2 separate regions of the Homo sapiens genome follow, and region 1 is linked to region 2. The links are contacts of gene promoters, found by promoter capture Hi-C in blood cells and fetal thymus (Javierre and others, 2016). All regions are on one chromosome and are shown on one strand. Each heading gives the region's core, a stretch centred on a gene start or on the middle of the fragment in contact. The rest is flanking DNA. Distances are from core to core; before and after follow the strand shown.

Region 1 (7,171 bases), core at 4,584-7,083, 220 kb after region 2:
GGTAGCAGCGGATGACACCCTCATCCTCATATAGTGCCCAACTGCGCTGCTGGGCGTCGTCCTTCCGGCGAGCCAGGTCTGCAAAGATCACCTCCAGCCTCTGCTGGTCGTGGCAGACCTGCCCTGAGGGCAGGGCCATGCTGAGGTCCTAGAGGGAGAGGGCAAGGCATGACTCAGCACACTCCCTGCCCTCACCATCTCCAGGGAGCCTCCAAGGCCTGGAGAGTCCATCTGTGGACTTTTACTCCATGAACTCAAGTCCCTCCTGGCCCACACTGGACAGGAGGCTCAACTCCAGTCTTGATGACCTCCCAGGACAGGAGTCAACGGGAGACTCATCTGTAGGGGGTTTTCAACAGCTCGCCTCTCATCCCAGACCTGGATAAACACCCCCAACTAGGAGGGCCATGAACTCTGTCACTGCCAGAATGTGACTCTGAGACCTCACTCTCCCATTCCACACAAAATGGCACAGGCCTGTCATCTACCAACTTGCCACATTTTCCTTGAACCCTGCTGACCAGGCACTAGCTGTTGTGCCCAGCACAGCCAAGCCCATTGGCCCACTCCCCAACACCCAAACCAGAAGTGTAACAGGAACCATGGAGCACTAAAGAGGGACCTTTGGTCTGTCTGACCCCCATCATGTATGCTGGGCTCACTGCCCCCATCCTGCTCATGAGTGCCAAGGATCCCACCCATCCCATGATGCCCACACACCTCACTCCCTCTCATCCATGTCAGCACCTAGGACTCCATCCCAGCTCTCCCAGCACCCATGTCTCTTACTGCCAAGGTCAGCAAGGCACTACCCTCACCCACGCCGTGTCCATTCCTTCCCTGCAGCCAGACAGAACTCTTGGCCACCCGCATGTCGTCTTATCTGTCACCTGCCCCAGGTCTCACCTCCTCCTACAGCACCCACTCCCTCACTCCCTGTGTTCCAGTCCTGCAGGCCTTGTTCCACTTCCTCCCACAAGCCAGGCTCAGTCCTGCCTTGTGGCCCTTGTCCAGGCTGCGCATCTGCCTGGAATGCTTGTCCTTCCTTTCTGCTTCAGAAATCAGCTCAACGTCCCCAGTGCCCAGCACAGTAAGAGCTCAGAGCCAGAGCTTGAGAAATACCTGTAATGTACAGGCTGGACAAGTGTGTGACGGTGGGAACAGGGTGGGTAGCAGGGTGGCCCTGCTGTGCCGCCCACCCTCACCTTGCCCTCTACGAGTGAGAGGAGGACCTGCTCCATGACTGGTGAGCTGGCCGGCACCGAGGCCTGGATGTGACCCACTATGATGCCGATGGCCACCCGGCATAATTCGTGGCTCAGGCCAGTGTTTCTCCGCACCAGCTCCATCAGCTCGGCCCCAATGGTCCTGGGCACAGCCGCCTCAGCTGCTGCCTTCTCCTCTGTGGTCCCCAGGCTCAGTGTACCCAGGGCTTCCAGGTCATCAGAGGCTGAGGTTGTACCAGTTGCCACTTCTTCTTCTGCAGGGGGTTCAGGTGCTGATGCCTTGGAGGGAGGGGGCTGGACTTGGGACACGGTGGTGTGGGTGCCTCGGCGGGGCACAGGTGGGGGTGTGGGTGAGCAGCTGGAGCCTGGTTCAGATGGGCTGGAGCTGGTATAGAGCGTGTCCAGGGAGGTGCTGCTGACTGAGGAGCCGCTGGACACAGAGTTACCCCCGGAGGGCATGGTGTTGTGGCCACCTGCGAGCAGTGAGTAGAAGCTGGGCCAGGGCAGCCCCCTGGAAAACCATACCCTTCACAGCCCAGATCCCCTGTCCCCTAACACAGGGCCTAGTTTCTCTGCTAGGCACTGCCTCCTCACAAAGCCCAGAGCCCCTAATTGCCCCAAAATGGGAGTCCTGTCCTCTTCCCCAGCTTAGAGCCTCCATTTCCCTGACACAGGCAGCACAACCATTCCAAGCATAGGGTGCCTCCACCTGAATTCCCCTAACCCTGCCTTCTTACCACTCCCAGAGGCCATCAGGGCCTCGCGGTCTCGGCGCTTCACTGGTGGGGGCGGTGTGGTGGGTGCTGCTCGGCGAGGCTGTGGTGGGATCTGGGAAGATGGAAGTGGGATCTGGAAGATGGAAGTAGGATCTTGGAGGACAGACTGACATCTAGAGCGTCAGCGAGGCTCGGGCCCTGAGCCCTGGCTGTGGGCAGGACTATGGCTCTGGGCCGCATCACTCCTGAGTGGACCCCTTGAGCCTCTGGATGAAGCCTCAAGTTCCACCCACCTCCCTTCTCCACGATGTCCTCCCCACACACCTGGTAGAGGCCTCCATCTGCCCCAAGATGCTCAGAACTGGGTAGGCTGTGCTGCCGCTCGAACCCAGCTCGACACACCCCATTGGGCTGCCTGGCTGCAGCAGCATCCAAGTGGTGGTCACTGGTTGATGAGGTCATAACTGCAACACTGGAGGCTGAAGGGCCTCTGCGTGACAGGGTCTCTTTCCGGTGGTGGATCAGCTTCCTGATGGAAGGACAGGAAGACTATTGGGGGGTTGCATCTCACAGCTCAAAGTCCTCATATGCCCCTGTGGGATGCTGGGACCCCATAGCCCAGGCCCCTCAGACATCCCCATCTCCTCCATGCTCCACCCCAGCCTACAGTACCCCATACTATCCTCAGTCCTGCGCTCTGCACACCCCTGGTGCTCACTGAAGGACCCGACCCCACCTTGCTCACTGGGAGGTGCCATTCCCCCACCACCCTTGCCAACCCTCGCATTTCCCAGGCCCACCTGCCCCATGACACTCATTGAAGAACCCCACCCCACCATGCTCACCGGGAGGTCCCACTTCACTCCCCTCAACACTCACTGGAGGACTCCACGCTGTTCCAGGCTGTACTTGCCACCATCCCGCATGGCTGTGTTGTGTACAGCCTCGATGGCCCGGTCAATGGCCTGGAGGACATCCTGCTCCAGGCCCTGGGGGGGGCAGGGGACAGCAGTTAGACCTGAAGGCCAAACGGAGGTGCTCAGCCCAGGCCCAGCCCGAGATAGAACCCAGGGCAGAGAACCAATATAGCGAAAGCCTGGAATGCTAGACATAGCACAAAAAGTTGAACCAGAATATGGAATGGGGTTCTCAAACTGTATCACTCAGGGAGCTGAGGCACAGGGTGACCCCCATGCTGCCACATTACATATTAGGTCCTGATCAGGATTTTACCCCACAGCAAGGCTCTTGGCTAAGATGTTTCTGAAAATCAGAGGTCTAAAGCAAAAACATAGCCCAGGGGCTCCCAGCTTGCAGCCAGGAGCGCATACCTCGTCTATCCCTGGTCTTGGCTCAGAGCCCAGGTTGAGATGCCAAACAGGAAGTCTCCAGTATCTGGAATCCTTAATACATCACTCTGCATCTTGCTGATCTTTCACAAAACCAAGGTCATACCCCAGAACAGCCCTGTCCTTGTAAGGGCCCTCTGTAAGCCCTGGGAGCTGAGAATGGGTCAAAGGGACTTGCCCTCCCCAACCCTGCTGCTGGCCCTCATCCCCACAAGATGTCTCAGTAAGCTTCCAAACCCACCCTGGGAAGCAGTTCTGTGTTTGTGGCAAAGGATAAACATGAGAGAGGGGCCTAGCCCCTGTTCCAGGCTCTGTACTGCCATCCCCAACATTCCAGGGATCCAGTCTACTCTGCCTATCTGACATGGGGAGTGTAGGGTAGCAGCTATCAAACCAGCTACCCCCAGCCCTCCCCTGGCCCTGGCACACGTAGTCCATCAGGCTACATAGGAGTCCCGGAGCTGAGATGAACTCATTCCACCATGGGTTTGAGAAGCTTCCCTGATGGGCACAGACAGGTGGGCACAGAGGTCAGCAAAGCCCTCCAGGTGGTATGAGGTGTGCCAGAGTGCAGGGAGAGGAGACAGGGGGATAGAAAGACATGAAGACACACACACACACACACACACACACACACACACACACACAGAGAGAGAGAGAAAGAAAGGAATGGGGAAAGAGAGGAGCTCAGAGAGGAACGGAGAGGCAGACAGAGGGAAACAACGCAGAAAGAAACAGAGCCAAAGCCAGAGTGTGGGGGGAGCCGGAGGAAGAAACAAAAACACACACATGTGGAGTCGGAACGACACAGGCAGAGAGGCACAGAGTCGCAGCAATCCAGACAGAAAGAGACACGCAGAAAGAAACAGACAGTGACAGAGAAGATGGTAGCCTCTCTGCCCTCCCCAAACACCTTGCCCCACTGGTCCTGGCTGGCGGCAGGGGACTCACAGGCCCTTGACCTATGCCCAGTAGGGGAAGAGACAGGACTTTTCCTCAGAGGCCTTCAATGAGACCCCATTCCCAAAAAGGTTGGGTCTGACACACAGCAGCCATGGTGTCCACGGCCCCCACTCCCACCCCTGGCACTCCTAGATGGGATCACGCCAAGGGTCTATGAGGAAGCCCCTAGGCCCCCAGGGCCCATCCTTCCTGGTAAGACCAGATGACACTTCCAAATTTATCCCGTTATTTCTGTCCTGAACTGGGCTGGGACAGGATGTTTCCTAAAGGATAAGGACTAGGACGGGGCGGGGGTGTCTGGCACAGGCCCGGCAGCTCTGGGCCCTTCTTCCCCCTGTGGTCAGAATAGACCAGCTGGAGATACGCACCCCAACCCCCGCAGCAGGGCTACTCTTAGGGAAACAGGAACTGGGACTGCAGCTTCCACTGGAAGGAAATGGGGCCACGATCAGACCAGGAGAAGCTATAAGAACTCACTTCATCACAATGTGAGCAGTCCCCACTCCAGGCTGGGAACAAGTAGGGATGGAACCCATTTTCAAAGCAAGAAAGTTTGAGAAGTCAGGGTTGGGGAGTGGAGCAGACAGTGTCAGCAGGGGCATGGGTCCTTGGTTCAAATAAGGTTGGTAGAGACTTAAGAAGAGCTTAGAGGGTGGCTGAACACAGGCTAGTGAAAGACACTGAAGTACCAAAGCTTGGGTGTTACATAGGGGATGGAGGTGTCTATGGCTCTAGGGTCCAAGTTGGGGGGTTGAGGACCTGGAGAATGGCTAGGGAAACAGGTGGTGTCCAAGGTGGTCCAGGTCTCAGTGGTGGCTCCAACGGGGGGCAAGGCGCGGGGTTGGGGGAAGAAGGAAGGGAGGGAGGGAGGGAGGGAGGGAGGGAGGGAGGGAGGTTGGTTGTGGGGTCCTAGGAATCCAGAGAAGGGGCATATTAAGGATCTGGGGTCTCAGGGATTTGAATAATTGGCCAGGATTCGGTGGGGCTCAGGGTCGCCATTCAGATGGCGGACTCGATACTGAAGGGTCTGGGGTCCTGAGGAGTCTCAGTCCCAGAGTTAGGCTTTTGGTCGATCGGGAGTTGGTCTGTCAAGGGCCTGGTCTTTTGTGGGTGATGCTGACACTTGGGGTCTCAGTCCCCGTGGGTCCGGGGGTCTCAGGGTCAGGTTCTCAAACTCCCTGTCTGATAGAGGTCCTGGCCTCGGGTCCCGGAGAGGGTGGGGTCCCTGGGTCGGTTCCGCGGGGCTGTGAAGGGGTCCTGCCCCAGGGGCGCGGAGGCCGGGCGGGAAGGGGCGCACTCACCTGCAGGCGGCGCAGGTAGGCTGGCGGCACGTAGCCCGTCTCACCACTGCGCGCCCGCGCGGCCAGCCACCAGTGCGCGCTGCTTCGCTCTAGCACCAGGAAGGTCTCGCCCGCGGCGAACGCCAGCGCGTTGGGCTCCGCCGAGCGGAACGCGTACAGCGCGCGGTACATGAGGCCGGGCAGGGCAGGTGCAGGGAAGGTGGCAAGGGCTGCGGCGCCACAACGCCAGGCCGGGAGCGCCGAGCCGCGCCGCGGTTGTCCCGCCCCGTGACACACTACGCAGGCGCGCGCGCGCCCGCCCGCCGAAGCCCCGCCCCGGGCTGTATCGTTCCACGCATCGGAGAGCAGCGCCCCCGCGCGGCCCCAAGAGGTGCGGCGGGGCTGGGGTCGACAGCTCGCTGTCTCCTCTGGTCCCTCCCGGCTCCAGGCCCCTCATCCCCGGACACCGCACCCTCACTCCTCACCCCGGCCTCAGTTTCACCCGTCCAGCCCTCTGCTCCCTTTCCCCGCTTAAGTCCGAGCGCTGCGTCCCGTCCTACCTCCCGGTGAAAGCGCGCTCCGCTCGTAGCGGGTGCGCCCCTACCGCCCTGGGGCAGTGGGTCCCATCTACTAATTGCAAGGACGGCGACCTCGAAAGGATGATCTTGCTGATCCGACACTTGGAAGCCCCCGCGGGGCCCGGCTCTCGGTGTGTCTAGGCCTCACCACCTGTCTTCACCGAGTGCCGGTGGTGGCCAGTGGGGAGCAAGTGTGGGGAGAAGGGGGCCACAAAAGCAGAAACCAGGCGGGGCTATTCCCTGTCTAAAGCCCTCCCATCTTTGCTCCCCACCCCTACTCCTCCTCTCTCTTCAGCTATGGCTGGTTTTCTCTATATTGGGCCTTTGCATATTCTGTTCCCTCTACCTGGGACAATTTTCCCTTCCCTCTCCTATAGTATTTGTCCGTCAAGCTCCCACCCCCATCAATCGCTATCATCTTGCTGTGTTTTATTGTCTTTATAGGACTTAAGATTTGCGATGCCCCTTTCTGAGAGCATAGAGGAGGGCTGAAAGAGGGAGTGGGGTACCACGGTGGCCTTAAGAGCCTATTTGATCCACCCAGCTTTCCAGTCAGCCCAGATCTCCAGATATATGAAATCCGTGTAATAAGAGTGCCTGGAAGACCCAGGGAAGAGGCCCTCAGGGTCCTGGAGAGACTGTGGCTGAGAATGGTCCAGCTACGCTCCACAGGAAGCCCGAGCCCAGGAAGCAGGAGGCGTGTACAGGCCAGTGTGTGCAAGTTTTCTATTTTTATCTGTATTTATTTTTTGAGACAGGGTCTTGCTCTGTCGTCCAGGCTGGAGTGCAGTGGGATGATCAAGCTCATTGCAGCCTTGATCTTCCAGGCTCAAGCCTACTGTCTCTGGGACTACAGGCATGCACCACCACACTCAGCTTTTTTTTTTTTTTTTTTTTTTTTTTTTTTTAGTAGAGACAAGGTCTTGCTATGTTGCTCTGGCTAGTCTCAAATTCCCGGACTCAAGCAGTCCTCCCAGTGTTGGGATTATGGGTGTCTGTCTGACCCAGTTGCCTATTTTTAGGCCTAAAGTACATAGGCCTAGTGTGAGGTTCAGGTGA
Region 2 (2,790 bases), core at 291-2,790:
AGCTCTGGTGGTAAGGGGGCCCCGTGCAAGGACTGTAGGCCCCACTGCAAACCCCCTCACGTGAGGTGGCTAGGCTGAGCGGATTGTTAGGGTGCAGGCCATGGTGGCACCAGGCCTCAGTCTGCACCCCCCCTCTCTCAGGTGGTCAGAGCGCTCACGGTGATGTTGCACAGACAGTGGCTGACAGTGCGGAGGGCAGGGGGACCCCCAAGGACCGACCAGCAGAGGCGGACAGTGCGCTGTCTGCGGGACACGGTGCTGCTGCTGCACGGCCTATCGCAGAAGGACAAGCTCTTCATGATGCACTGCGTGGAGGTCCTGCATCAGTTTGACCAGGTGATGCCGGGGGTCAGCATGCTCATCCGAGGGCTTCCTGATGTGACGGACTGTGAAGGTAAGCCTGCCAGAGGCCATCCTGCCCAGCCCCCATGGCTTCTTCCAGAGGTTCCCCAACAAGTCAGATTCCTGGGTGTCCCCTCAGCAGGCCCCCGCCCACTGCAGCCTGTTCCAGCACTGGGGCCATTTTCTTTTATCTTCCTGCCTCAGTTCTTCTCCAAGCATATTGGGATGCCTTTTGCATCTATCTGTTGAGTGTGCCTGGCAGAGCCACGGTTTTTCCAGAAATAGCCGTGTCTGAATTGCCTTTGTATCACTTTGTTTGCAGTAGCTGAGGGAGCAGGGCCTGGGTGTGGAAGGGACTGGTTAGTTCCTGCGGACGTTGGGGGAGGAGAGGTGGGACCTGCCCTAGGCCCTGGCACCTTTGGGCCCTCACCAGGAACCTCTCCTTTTTGTCTCAGAGGCAGCCCTGGATGACCTCTGTGCCGCGGAAACCGATGTGGAAGACCCCGAGGTGGAGTGTGGCTGAGGCCCTGAGTGTCCAGCCACATGGTGGCACCAGCACCACTCCTTTCCTTACCACATCAACTGATTAAAGCAGTGACCAGCAGGAACTGCCCAGAGAACTGGCTGGCCTTGTTTCCTGAGTCTGATCTGTTTGGCGGAGTGGGAGGGGTGGAGCAGGACCCGGACCCTGAGTGGCTGGGATCCTTCTTCCTGTCCCTGGCTGTTGCTGAGCCCGTCCCCATGGTAACTGATCTGCCTTGAGGAAGGAGCCCTGCCCTGCCTGTGGAATTGTCCTGAGTCATTGCTTTGGGCTGGGGCCATGGGAAGAAACCATTGTGTGGCAGGGAAGGAGGTGGCTCTTGGCCCAGGCCTAAACCAGGAAAGCCTGGGAAACTGGGACCCACAGGTGGGCATGAAAGGGCCGCAGCAGGGGCTCCCAGCAGTGTGTAAGACCGGGAGCTGGTCTGGCACCACTGCCCTGGTCCTTCCAGCTGCCTGTCACTGGTATGATGGCCCCGGTGCATTGTGCCACCAGCAGGCCACAGCTGTGGATCTTGGAAGGCCTCTGGGGTCCCCCGGGAGCAGGGGAGTGGGTGTGGGGGGGAACGGATGGTGGTGAGAGGGACAGACCAGGCAGGCTGACGAGCAGGGCGGGCCTGGCTCACGTGGGCCTGTAGGCGGGCCCACGCCAAGTTTCACTTCCCGCCACTGCTGCCAGCGAGAGCCGCGGGAGAGTGTGCAGCCGAGTCACTACTGCCTGCCTGCCTGCCTGCTACGGTGAGTGTGGCCCCCACAATGGGATGGCGCAGGGCAGGAGGGCCATGGGTTCCCCCACCCCAGACTAAGGGGGCACTAGGGGAGGGGCCGAGTCATGTGAAGAGGGAGACCCTCTCAGACAGTCGAATGTGCTGGTCCCACTAAGGAAACCACCTCACCCTCTCCAACTTCCTGCCTGAAAATGGGCCCTGGAGCTCGCAGACAGGGCAGGATTGTGCAGGGAAGGCCTGAGATGTGCTTCTGCCCACCCCCTACCCCACTCCCTCCCCTTCGGATCTTAACACTGGGCACTCACACACCCACCCCATGCTCCTCTCCAGGCTCAGCAGCAGGTACGTACCCAACCATGGGCTCGCAGGCCCTGCCCCCGGGGCCCATGCAGACCCTCATCTTTTTCGACATGGAGGCCACTGGCTTGCCCTTCTCCCAGCCCAAGGTCACGGAGCTGTGCCTGCTGGCTGTCCACAGATGTGCCCTGGAGAGCCCCCCCACCTCTCAGGGGCCACCTCCCACAGTTCCTCCACCACCGCGTGTGGTAGACAAGCTCTCCCTGTGTGTGGCTCCGGGGAAGGCCTGCAGCCCTGCAGCCAGCGAGATCACAGGTCTGAGCACAGCTGTGCTGGCAGCGCATGGGCGTCAATGTTTTGATGACAACCTGGCCAACCTGCTCCTAGCCTTCCTGCGGCGCCAGCCACAGCCCTGGTGCCTGGTGGCACACAATGGTGACCGCTACGACTTCCCCCTGCTCCAAGCAGAGCTGGCTATGCTGGGCCTCACCAGTGCTCTGGATGGTGCCTTCTGTGTGGATAGCATCACTGCGCTGAAGGCCCTGGAGCGAGCAAGCAGCCCCTCAGAACACGGCCCAAGGAAGAGCTATAGCCTAGGCAGCATCTACACTCGCCTGTATGGGCAGTCCCCTCCAGACTCGCACACGGCTGAGGGTGATGTCCTGGCCCTGCTCAGCATCTGTCAGTGGAGACCACAGGCCCTGCTGCGGTGGGTGGATGCTCACGCCAGGCCTTTCGGCACCATCAGGCCCATGTATGGGGTCACAGCCTCTGCTAGGACCAAGCCAAGACCATCTGCTGTCACAACCACTGCACACCTGGCCACAACCAGGAACACTAGTCCCAGCCTTGGAGAGAGCAGGGGTACCAAGGATCTTCCTCC

The links. The method cuts DNA at HindIII sites, captures the fragments that hold promoters and counts their contacts. A CHiCAGO score of 5 or more calls a contact.
Region 1: a contact is called between the fragment with the promoter of NCKIPSD here and the fragment with the promoter of TREX1 in region 2, in 4 of 17 cell types (M2 macrophages, M0 macrophages, M1 macrophages and 1 more). The highest score is 10.3, in M2 macrophages.

Annotation. Positions count from the first base shown.
Region 1 is chr3:48,680,082-48,687,252 of GRCh38, forward strand. NCKIPSD (NCK interacting protein with SH3 domain) reads right to left here and starts at 5,834. Exons shown (of 13, transcript NM_016453.4): 1 at 5,556-5,834; 2 at 2,822-2,931; 3 at 2,267-2,471; 4 at 1,964-2,075; 5 at 1,206-1,699; 6 at 1-148. The coding sequence starts at 5,726. RefSeq lists silencers at 5,342-6,061, 5,455-5,749 and enhancers at 5,946-6,677, 6,272-6,341. The HindIII fragment of the contact is 7,513 bases long and covers 4,947-7,171 here.
Region 2 is chr3:48,464,690-48,467,479 of GRCh38, forward strand. TREX1 (three prime repair exonuclease 1) reads left to right here and starts at 1,541. Exons shown (of 2, transcript NM_033629.6): 1 at 1,541-1,620; 2 at 1,941-2,790. The coding sequence starts at 1,967. ATRIP (ATR interacting protein) reads left to right here. Exons shown (of 13, transcript NM_130384.3): 12 at 142-394; 13 at 798-2,790. The coding sequence ends at 865. It overlaps ATRIP-TREX1 (ATRIP-TREX1 readthrough), which reads left to right. Exons shown (of 15, transcript NR_153405.1): 13 at 142-394; 14 at 798-1,620; 15 at 1,941-2,790. RefSeq lists enhancers at 767-856, 1,469-2,350, 1,937-2,136, 2,351-2,790. The HindIII fragment of the contact is 3,980 bases long and covers 1-2,790 here.